Regions from separate parts of the Homo sapiens genome. Here regions 2 and 3 are each linked to region 1. Evidence: promoter capture Hi-C in 16 types of primary human blood cells and fetal thymus (Javierre and others, 2016). All regions are on one chromosome and are shown on one strand. The core of a region is centred on a gene start or on the middle of the fragment in contact, and the rest is flanking DNA. Distances in the headings are between cores, read along the strand shown.

Evidence for each region. The method cuts DNA at HindIII sites, captures the fragments that hold promoters and counts their contacts. A CHiCAGO score of 5 or more calls a contact.
Region 2: a fragment that was not itself captured here is called in contact with the fragment with the promoter of REDIC1 in region 1 in 3 of 17 cell types (non-activated CD4 T cells, naive CD8 T cells and total CD8 T cells); the score reaches 5.9 in non-activated CD4 T cells.
Region 3: a contact is called between a fragment that was not itself captured here and the fragment with the promoter of REDIC1 in region 1, in 3 of 17 cell types (naive CD8 T cells, non-activated CD4 T cells and total CD8 T cells). The highest score is 6.3, in naive CD8 T cells.

What each region holds. Positions count from the first base shown.
Region 1 is chr12:39,624,806-39,627,565 of GRCh38, reverse strand. REDIC1 (regulator of DNA class I crossover intermediates 1) reads right to left here and starts at 1,383. Exons shown (of 13, transcript NM_001031748.4): 1 at 1,207-1,383. The coding sequence starts at 1,229. The HindIII fragment of the contact is 5,259 bases long and covers 1-2,760 here.
Region 2 is chr12:39,584,482-39,587,241 of GRCh38, reverse strand. ABCD2 (ATP binding cassette subfamily D member 2) reads left to right here. Exons shown (of 10, transcript NM_005164.4): 7 at 945-1,090. Among named protein-coding and RNA genes, the nearest start is that of ABCD2, 34 kb to the left of the region's middle. The HindIII fragment of the contact is 482 bases long and covers 1,146-1,627 here.
Region 3 is chr12:39,657,853-39,660,612 of GRCh38, reverse strand. All of the region lies in intron 7 of REDIC1 (regulator of DNA class I crossover intermediates 1), which reads right to left. Among named protein-coding and RNA genes, the nearest start is that of REDIC1, 33 kb to the right of the region's middle. The HindIII fragment of the contact is 4,797 bases long and covers 1-2,760 here.

The DNA of each region.
Region 1 (2,760 bases), core at 134-2,633:
TTTCCTGCAGTATATTGTTTTTGCATCCTCCCAGTAGCAACTAAAATATTACTCCCAAAATAGCCATAAAAGTTTGTGATATATGACAGAATAATAGCAACATCTACATTTTAATAGTGCTAAGCATTTGTAAAATTATTTCATATAATCCTATTTAATATTTTAAAGAATACTAAATTCAAAAAGATCACATTATAAGCATGTATCAACTAAATCCTGTTGAAGCCTGTAAGTAAATTTTCACTTTTCTCCAGAGTACGTCTGCTGCCAGAACACTAGCCAGAAGTAATTCAGGTAAATTTCTAAAATACAATGCTAGCATATTCAACAGGATAAAAGTGCATGCTAAAATTATCAGGCATAGCTACAATACTTAGTGAATACAAAAGCTGTCTTTCCTCCGATAAATTCTTTAGAATTCAAACGCATTATAATCTAACATATAATTACTGTCCTGGGTCTACTTGTGACAAAAAAATTACATGTAATGGCTTCTTGTTTCAATCAAAACAATTCTTCTCATCAAGAATTTTGATCAAATGAAATTACAGGCCCACATGATTTCCACCCAGCTGGACTTTAAGGTCAATAACAATGAATAGGTTATATAACACTAAATTTTCAATCTATCACGCTTTATGTGATCAATCCTAAATACAAAATAAATGGCAAATTCGCTCAAGTTATTCAAGTAAAAACGGTTCACTTTACTTCCCCTTAAAATACAAACTACAATTTGGATTTATGGTGATACTGGTGCCCTGCCATTGATTTAAGTGCAGCTGGGACTGGGCTGTTTCACAATTTCCAAATTCATGCAAAGACTATATATCAACTCAGAAGAACCTAAAAGAGGTGTAGACACGGAAAGAAGGCAGTAGGGGAGGGCTCAGGTGCTAAAAGGCCTCATTACAGTAACAGAGCATAGGACATGGAGAAGGGGAGGAGGGGCAGCAGGGAAGGTTACTCACAGTGGCCCCCACAGGTGAAGCCTTTGTAAAGGCAGTGAGTGGGGAGAAGCTGAGTTACTTTTGTCTGAGGAGTAGAGATATGGTTCTAGAGTCTCCAACCCGATTTGGATAACAATAAAAAGACCCTTTCCTACCAAGTTCTTTCCAGCTAAGGCTGTGACCTCTCCGCCAGGAACTAGAAAGAGGAGTCGTAGGAATGAATGTCCCAGCCTCAAACTCCAGCTGCACAACTTACCGGGACCCCCCGACCCAATTCATCTTCCCAAATCTTTTGACACTGAGGTCCCTGTGTCTAGAGCTCAGACATCTCAGCTCTGCGCCAAATCGCAGCTTCAGCAGGATCCCCCAGGGCCTCCTGACAACGTCAGGGCCCGAGTAAGCTCCTTCTGGTCCACCGCCTGAGGCCCAACCTCCCAACAGCCTCTGCGGCTTCTGCGTGTTCCTTCCGGTCCTGATAGGGCCGCAAGGGGACGCTGCGGCAAAGCAGCCGACCTGGCTGACATCGTTTTAATCGCTGAGGCAAGGCAGGCCTAAATAAATGAAAGCCTAAATTTTTGACAGGGGCCACAGGATTAGTGTTTCAAAACACCTCCATCATAATTTTATCTAGTTCTGACAGGTCTTTGACGTCTTTTTCGAGTCAGAGACCAGACTTGAGAAAGAAAAAGAAGGCAAGGACACAGTTAAGGATCGCTAACCCTAAAAATGATGTTTCCCTTCCCATTTATTACCCCATACCCAAATTCCTTAAATATCCTTCATGTGCAGTTTTAATACTCCGTAAACAGGTGTTTATAAGAAACATAGCGCTGTAGTAAGTTACCATTCTGTGCATTGAGTTGCTAAGAGAGCTTAAATCAGGCCGGGCGCAGTGGCTCACGCCTATAATCCCAGCACTTTGGGAGGCCAAGGTGGGCAGATCACGAGGTCAGCAGATCAAGACCATCCTGGCTAACACGGTGAAACTCCGTTTCTACTAAAAATACAAAAAATTAGTGGGACGTGGTGGGACGCGCCTGTAGCCCCAGTTATTCAGGAGGCTGAGGCAGGAGAATTGCTTCAACCCAGGAGGGCAGAGGTTGCAGTGAGTCGAGAGACTCCAGCCTGGGCGACAGAGCAGACTCTGTCTCTTAAAAAAAAAAAAAAAAAGAAAGAAAGGAAAAAAAAGAGCTTGATCAAAACTTAATTAGATGTAAAAGTCCAAAGATGTTAAAATCCTTACTGAAAAAAAAATCTCAAAACAAAAATTGAATTATGCTATTTGTTTCTGTATTAAGTTTGTATATCCTTACAAAACAATTATCTTACAAACTGTCCTATATTATTTTGGTTAGAAACTAGGCATCTCTTCTTCCAAATACATGCACAAATTACATTTTTTTAAATTGCCATGTTTTTTTCCAGAACATAACCTGGGGAAGATTTCACAATTTGATATATAATAATCGATTTTTTGTTAAGTCATTGGAAAATAGTACTTAGAATAGGATTATGTCCCAGGGTAGATATCTTGTTTAATCACAAAAATCCTGTTTTTTATGACAAAATTCACCAAGGTGTATCTAAAATTGAATTAGACCAAGTGAATTCAGCATTTCCGAGAATATCAGACTTTGACATGGAGTTGTTTTTTCAGTAACAAAACCATACAGGCAAGGAAGAAGCAATGGCCCTGTGTATCAGCCTTTCCTACTTTCAACATTTTAAAACATATTGACTAAATTAACTGAAAGGGGAAATAATTTGCTAAGGGATTAACTCTTTTTTTCTTTATTGTGAGTAAAGGGAC
Region 2 (2,760 bases), core at 137-2,636, 40 kb after region 1:
GTCTTCCTCATCCTTTTATTACAGCTGCTTAGCGGATGTACTATAGTTTATTCTGTCTGTCTTCTTTGTATGGGTATTTATGTTGTATTTCAGTATTTTGCTATTACAAATAAGCTGTAATGAATAACCTCATGCATCTTTTTTTGTATTTTTAGAAGTATATTTTCAGAGTGAATTCCCAGAAGGAGGTCAAAGGGCAACAAATGCTCTGTCAGTTTGCCAAATCCCCTCTGTAAGAGTTGTACCATTCTGCATTTTCACTGTAGTGTGAGAACATTCCCTTACCCATAGGCCTGCCAGTGGAGTGAGTTACCAAGTTGTTGAATTTTTGCCAATCTGATTAGTAAGAAACTCAATGTAGTTTTAATTTGTGTTTTTCTTACTATGAATTAAATTTTTTTGTTTTGTTTGTTCACATTGCTGGGTCGAAACCCAAATTGTATAATATGTCACCCAAATAATTATAGATGAATTACAGAAGCAATCTTTATCAAATACAGTGAAACAAAGTATATACAATATTTCCCTGCTGAAAATGTTAAATGTGGCTGGGTTCTATGGCTCACAACTGTAATCCCAGTGCTTTGGGAGGCCAAGTTAGGAGGAATCACTTGAGGCAGGTGTTTGAGACTAGCCTGGGAAAACATATCAAGACCCTGTCTCTACAAAATATAAAATAAAATAGAATTTTTTAGAAAAAGAAAATGTCAGATGATTTCTTGGAGAAGCTTTTCTTGTGTCCATGTGTCAGTAAGTTTTTATGTAAACATAACGGTATTGTTTAGCAGTGCCTGAGGGAGAAGTACTCATCGCCAGGTAACAAATATCATCCTGGAAATGTAGTGTTTAAAGTCTTCACTGATGTTTTCAGACTACCAAGTTGTCACACTGAGTAAGTTATCATGACTTTCCACTAGGATTCTTGTGTGCTTGGTGTTTTAAAGGCCATATATGTCTCTTGGAAGTCTTCGGGATCAAGTCATTTACCCTGATTCAGTGGATGATATGCATGATAAAGGTTATACAGACCAAGATCTGGAACGTATCCTACACAATGTCCATCTCTATCACATAGTTCAAAGAGAAGGAGGTAAAGTCTATCATTCTTTTCTAATGCATTTAACTTCACTTTTAAAAAGTAAGCTTGGGTATATATTTAGTCTGTGGTTTAATTTGAATGTATGCTATAATCGGAAATAAGCACATAAGTGTAAAGATGGAGTTTTATTGCTGTTCCATTATTTACATTTCTTTTTCTGCTTGTGTTGTGTTTAATGCAACACACTAAGTTTTTATTAAGTCTCCATGTCAGTGCAGCTAACATTTAAAAACAGTTTTTTTCTTTTATATTCGAATGTACAAAGTCCCTGAGGCCATTGTCAGTCTAGATGTATGTAAAGTCTATGACAGACATATTTGCCTTACAAGCTCTCAGCTCACATTAAATTAAATAATTTGAGAAGTAGATACCACAGAACTTTTTTTGTTTTCAGACCCACAATCTGACCAGTATCTTTTTTTGCTCTCAAGCAGCACACAGGTAATTAAAGTTAGAAACTTCTGTATTGTGGTTTTTCAGCATAAAACATTTTTGAAAGAGTATAAATAACATTTGTACATATAAGCTTAAAATAGAATTATTGTCTAATAATACTCTTTCTGTGTTTAGTGATACTTTCAAATAATTTAATAATAATAATCACACTTTAACTAGATAAGCCAGGCAAGAGAAAGAAATAAAGGGCATTCACATAGGAAGAGAGGAAGTCAAACTATCCCTGCTTGCAGACACATGATTCTATATCTAGAAAACCCCATAGTCTCAGCTCAAAGCTCCTTCAGCTGATAAACAACTTCAGCAAAGTTGCAGTGTACAAAATCAACATACAAAAATCACTAACTTTGCTATACACCAACAACAGCCAAGCGAACAGCCAAATCAGGAAGGCAATCCCCTTCACAATTGCCACAAAAAGAATGAAATACCTAGGAATACAGCTAACCAGGAAGGTGAAAGATCTCTACAATGGGAATTACAAAACACTGCTCAAAGAAATCAGAGAAGACACAAATGGAAAACCATCCCATGTTCATGGATAGGAAGAATCAATATCATTAAAATGGCTATGTTGCCCAAAGCAATTTACATATTCAATGCTATTCCTATCAAACTACCAATGACATTCTTCACAGAACTAGGAAAAAAACTATTTTAAAATTTGTTTGGAACCAAGAAAGAGCCTGAATAGCCAAGGTAATCCTAAGCAAAAGGAACAAAGCTGGAGGCATCATGCTGCCCCACTTCAAACTATACTACAAGTCTACAGTAACCAAAACAGCATAGTGCTGTTACAAAAACAGGCACAGAGACCAATGAAACAGAATGGAGAGCACAGAAATAAGGCCGCACATCTACAACCATCTAATCTTCAACAAAGCTGACAAAAACAAGCAATGGGGAAAAGACTCCCTATTCAATAAATGGTGCTGTGATAACTGGCTGGCCATATGCAGAAGACTGAAGCTGGACCCCTTCTTTATACCATATACAAAAATCAACACAAGATGGATTAGAGACTTAAATGTAAAACCCCAAACTATAAAAACCCTGGAAGACAACCTAGGCAAAACTATCCTGGACATGGAAACAGACAAAGACTTCATGACAAAGATACCAAAAGCAATCACAATGAAAGCAAAAATTGACAAGTGAGATCTAATTAAATTTAAGAGCTTCTGCACAGCAAAAGAAACTATCAA
Region 3 (2,760 bases), core at 120-2,619, 33 kb before region 1:
AATACCCTGACCTGATTATTACACATTCCATGCATGCAACAACATACCACATGTACCCCAGTAATATGTACAATATTAAATAATATGTATCAATAAAAAATTTAAAAAAAAAGAACAAAATATATGGACAACAGTTTTCAGTCAGAGGAGACCAGGTGAGCAAGATAATGATCCCTGAGAGAGAGAAAACAAATGAGGAGAACTCTGTGATTGTTCCTAGGTTATTGTCTGGAGAGAACATTCAAGCCACAGAACAAGGAAAGAGAACCTAATCAGAGCCCAACTGAGGCTCCCTTTGTTGAGGAAACACCTGGGGATCCAGGGAGATTGCAGAGGATAGAGTTCACAAGTTAGAGTACCATAAAGGAGAGTGTTTCAGAGAGTAAGACCTCCAGAGATCCAGAGTGTTCTCAAGTGTTCAACTAAATACTAACCGGCACATGCATGTGAAGTAATTGCCGAAGGCTGTGAAAAGAACCACCCAAGGTAAGAAAAATAGAACAATCTCAGGAGCTCACTAGGGGGGAAAATTTTGATTCCACCCTCTAGAGTGGAAAATTTCATAATTCAAGGGGGATCAAGAAAGTATTCAGAAGGGTATTGCCTCAGCAGTGGAGCAAAATTAACTACAAACTGAAGGCTTATTGGTCCTGCTTGACAAAATTTAAAAGCAAGCCTCAATAAGATCATAGGGTTTCCAAGTACCATAGTGTTTCCAAGTACCATAGTGTTTCCAAGGATGATGTGCAGGAAAATAAAAATGTCCAGCAGCCATAAAAATAAAAATTCATAATGTATAGAATCCAACAAAATTACCAGGAATGCAAAAAAGAGAAGATCTATAATGAGAAGCAAAATCAATTATTAAAAACAGATCAAGAAATGACAAAAATAATGGAATTCGTAGACAAGTACATTAAAAGTTATCATAACTATATTTCCTGTATTCAAGGAGACAGAGGAAATACTGAACATGCCTAATAGATACATGGAAGATAAAAAAGAAAAGGTAAATCAAAGTTCTAGAGATGAAAATTACACTGGATGGGATTACCAGCAGATAAGACCACACGGAAGATACAATTATGGACGTGGAAGATATAGTAATATAATCTACATAAAATAAAACAATGAGAGAAAAAAGACTGGAAAAAACAGAGCACCAGTAAACTGAGATTTCAAGTAGACTAATTTACCAATTTGAGTCCCCCAAGGAGAAGGAAAGGAGTCAGAAAAAATATTTGAAGAAATAATGGATAAAAATTTTTGATAAAAATAAGTCCACAAATCCAAGATCAAGAAAACCCAAACATAAGAAATAGAAAGAAAATTAATATCTTAATCAAAGAATAGAAATCAATGTTTAAAAAATCATGACAGAAAAATCACAAAAACAAAGATAAAAACTATATTATATATACAGATATTAAGATAATGACAGCAAACTTCTAGTTGGAAACTACACCAAGTCAAAAGACATCTTTCAAAAACAGAAATTTGCAAATATACAAAGATTAGAGCATTAATCACCAGCAGATCTACAATAGAAGAAATGTTAAGTCTTTCAAACAGAAAATGACACCAGATGGAAATCTATATCTACACAAAATAATGAAGACCACTAAAAATAACAACTACGTGCTTAAATATAAGAAACATATTTTCTTATTTAGCTTTCTTTAAAACAAAACAACAATGCATTATTGGGTTTATAACATACACATAAATAAATGTACGAATATAACACAAAGGCCAAAGGAGAGAAGAAATAAAAAGTATACTACTGTAAGATTCTTATACTATACTTGATACTATAACTTGAAGATAATCTGTGATACATTAATATATATCTGATAAAGTCTAAAGCAATCAATAATAAAACAGAATTATAGCTAATAAACAAAGAGATGAAAAGAAGTCATAAAAATACTTAAATAAAAGTAGAAAAAGAGGCAAAGGGATGGACAAAATGCAAACAGCAAGAGGACAGACTTAAATCCAAACCTATACATTGTCATATTAAATGTAAACCATATTCTTAGCCACTATACCAGTCTGAATAAATTTGGAAGGATCAAATCATACAAAGTATGTTCCTTGTCCACAAAGGAATTAATTCATAAAGATAATGGGAAAGTCTTAGTTTCTGGGAACCAAATACGAAATTTCTAAATAACTCATGGATTGAAACAGAAATCCAAAGAAAGATTAGAATGTATTTTGATCCAGGCTGGGCATGGTGTCTCAAGCCTATAATCCCAGCACTTTGGGAGGCTGAGGCAGGTGGATCACTTGAGGTCAGGAGTTCGAGACCAGTCTGGCCAACATGGTGAAACCCCAACTCTACTAAAAATATTTTTAAAACTTAGCCAGGCGTGGTGGGAGGCACCTGTAATCCCAGCTACTTAAGAGGCTGAGGCAGGAGAATCACTTGAACCCGGGAGGCAGAGGTTGCAGTGAGCCAACATCACACCACTGCACTCCAGTCTGCGCAACAGAGCTAGACACTGTCTCAAAAAAAAAAAGTATTTTGATGTGAATAAAAATGAAAACATAATATTTCAAAATTTGTAAGATACAGCAAAAACAGCAGTTAGTAGAGAATTTATAGCCCTAAAATGCCTATATTAGTAAAGAAGAATGGTTTCAAACCAATGACCTTACCTCTTAAAAAAACTAGAAAACGCAGAGGAAATTAAATGCAAAATAAGCAGACAAAAGAAAATAATAAATAGAAAAGCAGAATTCAATGCAATTTTT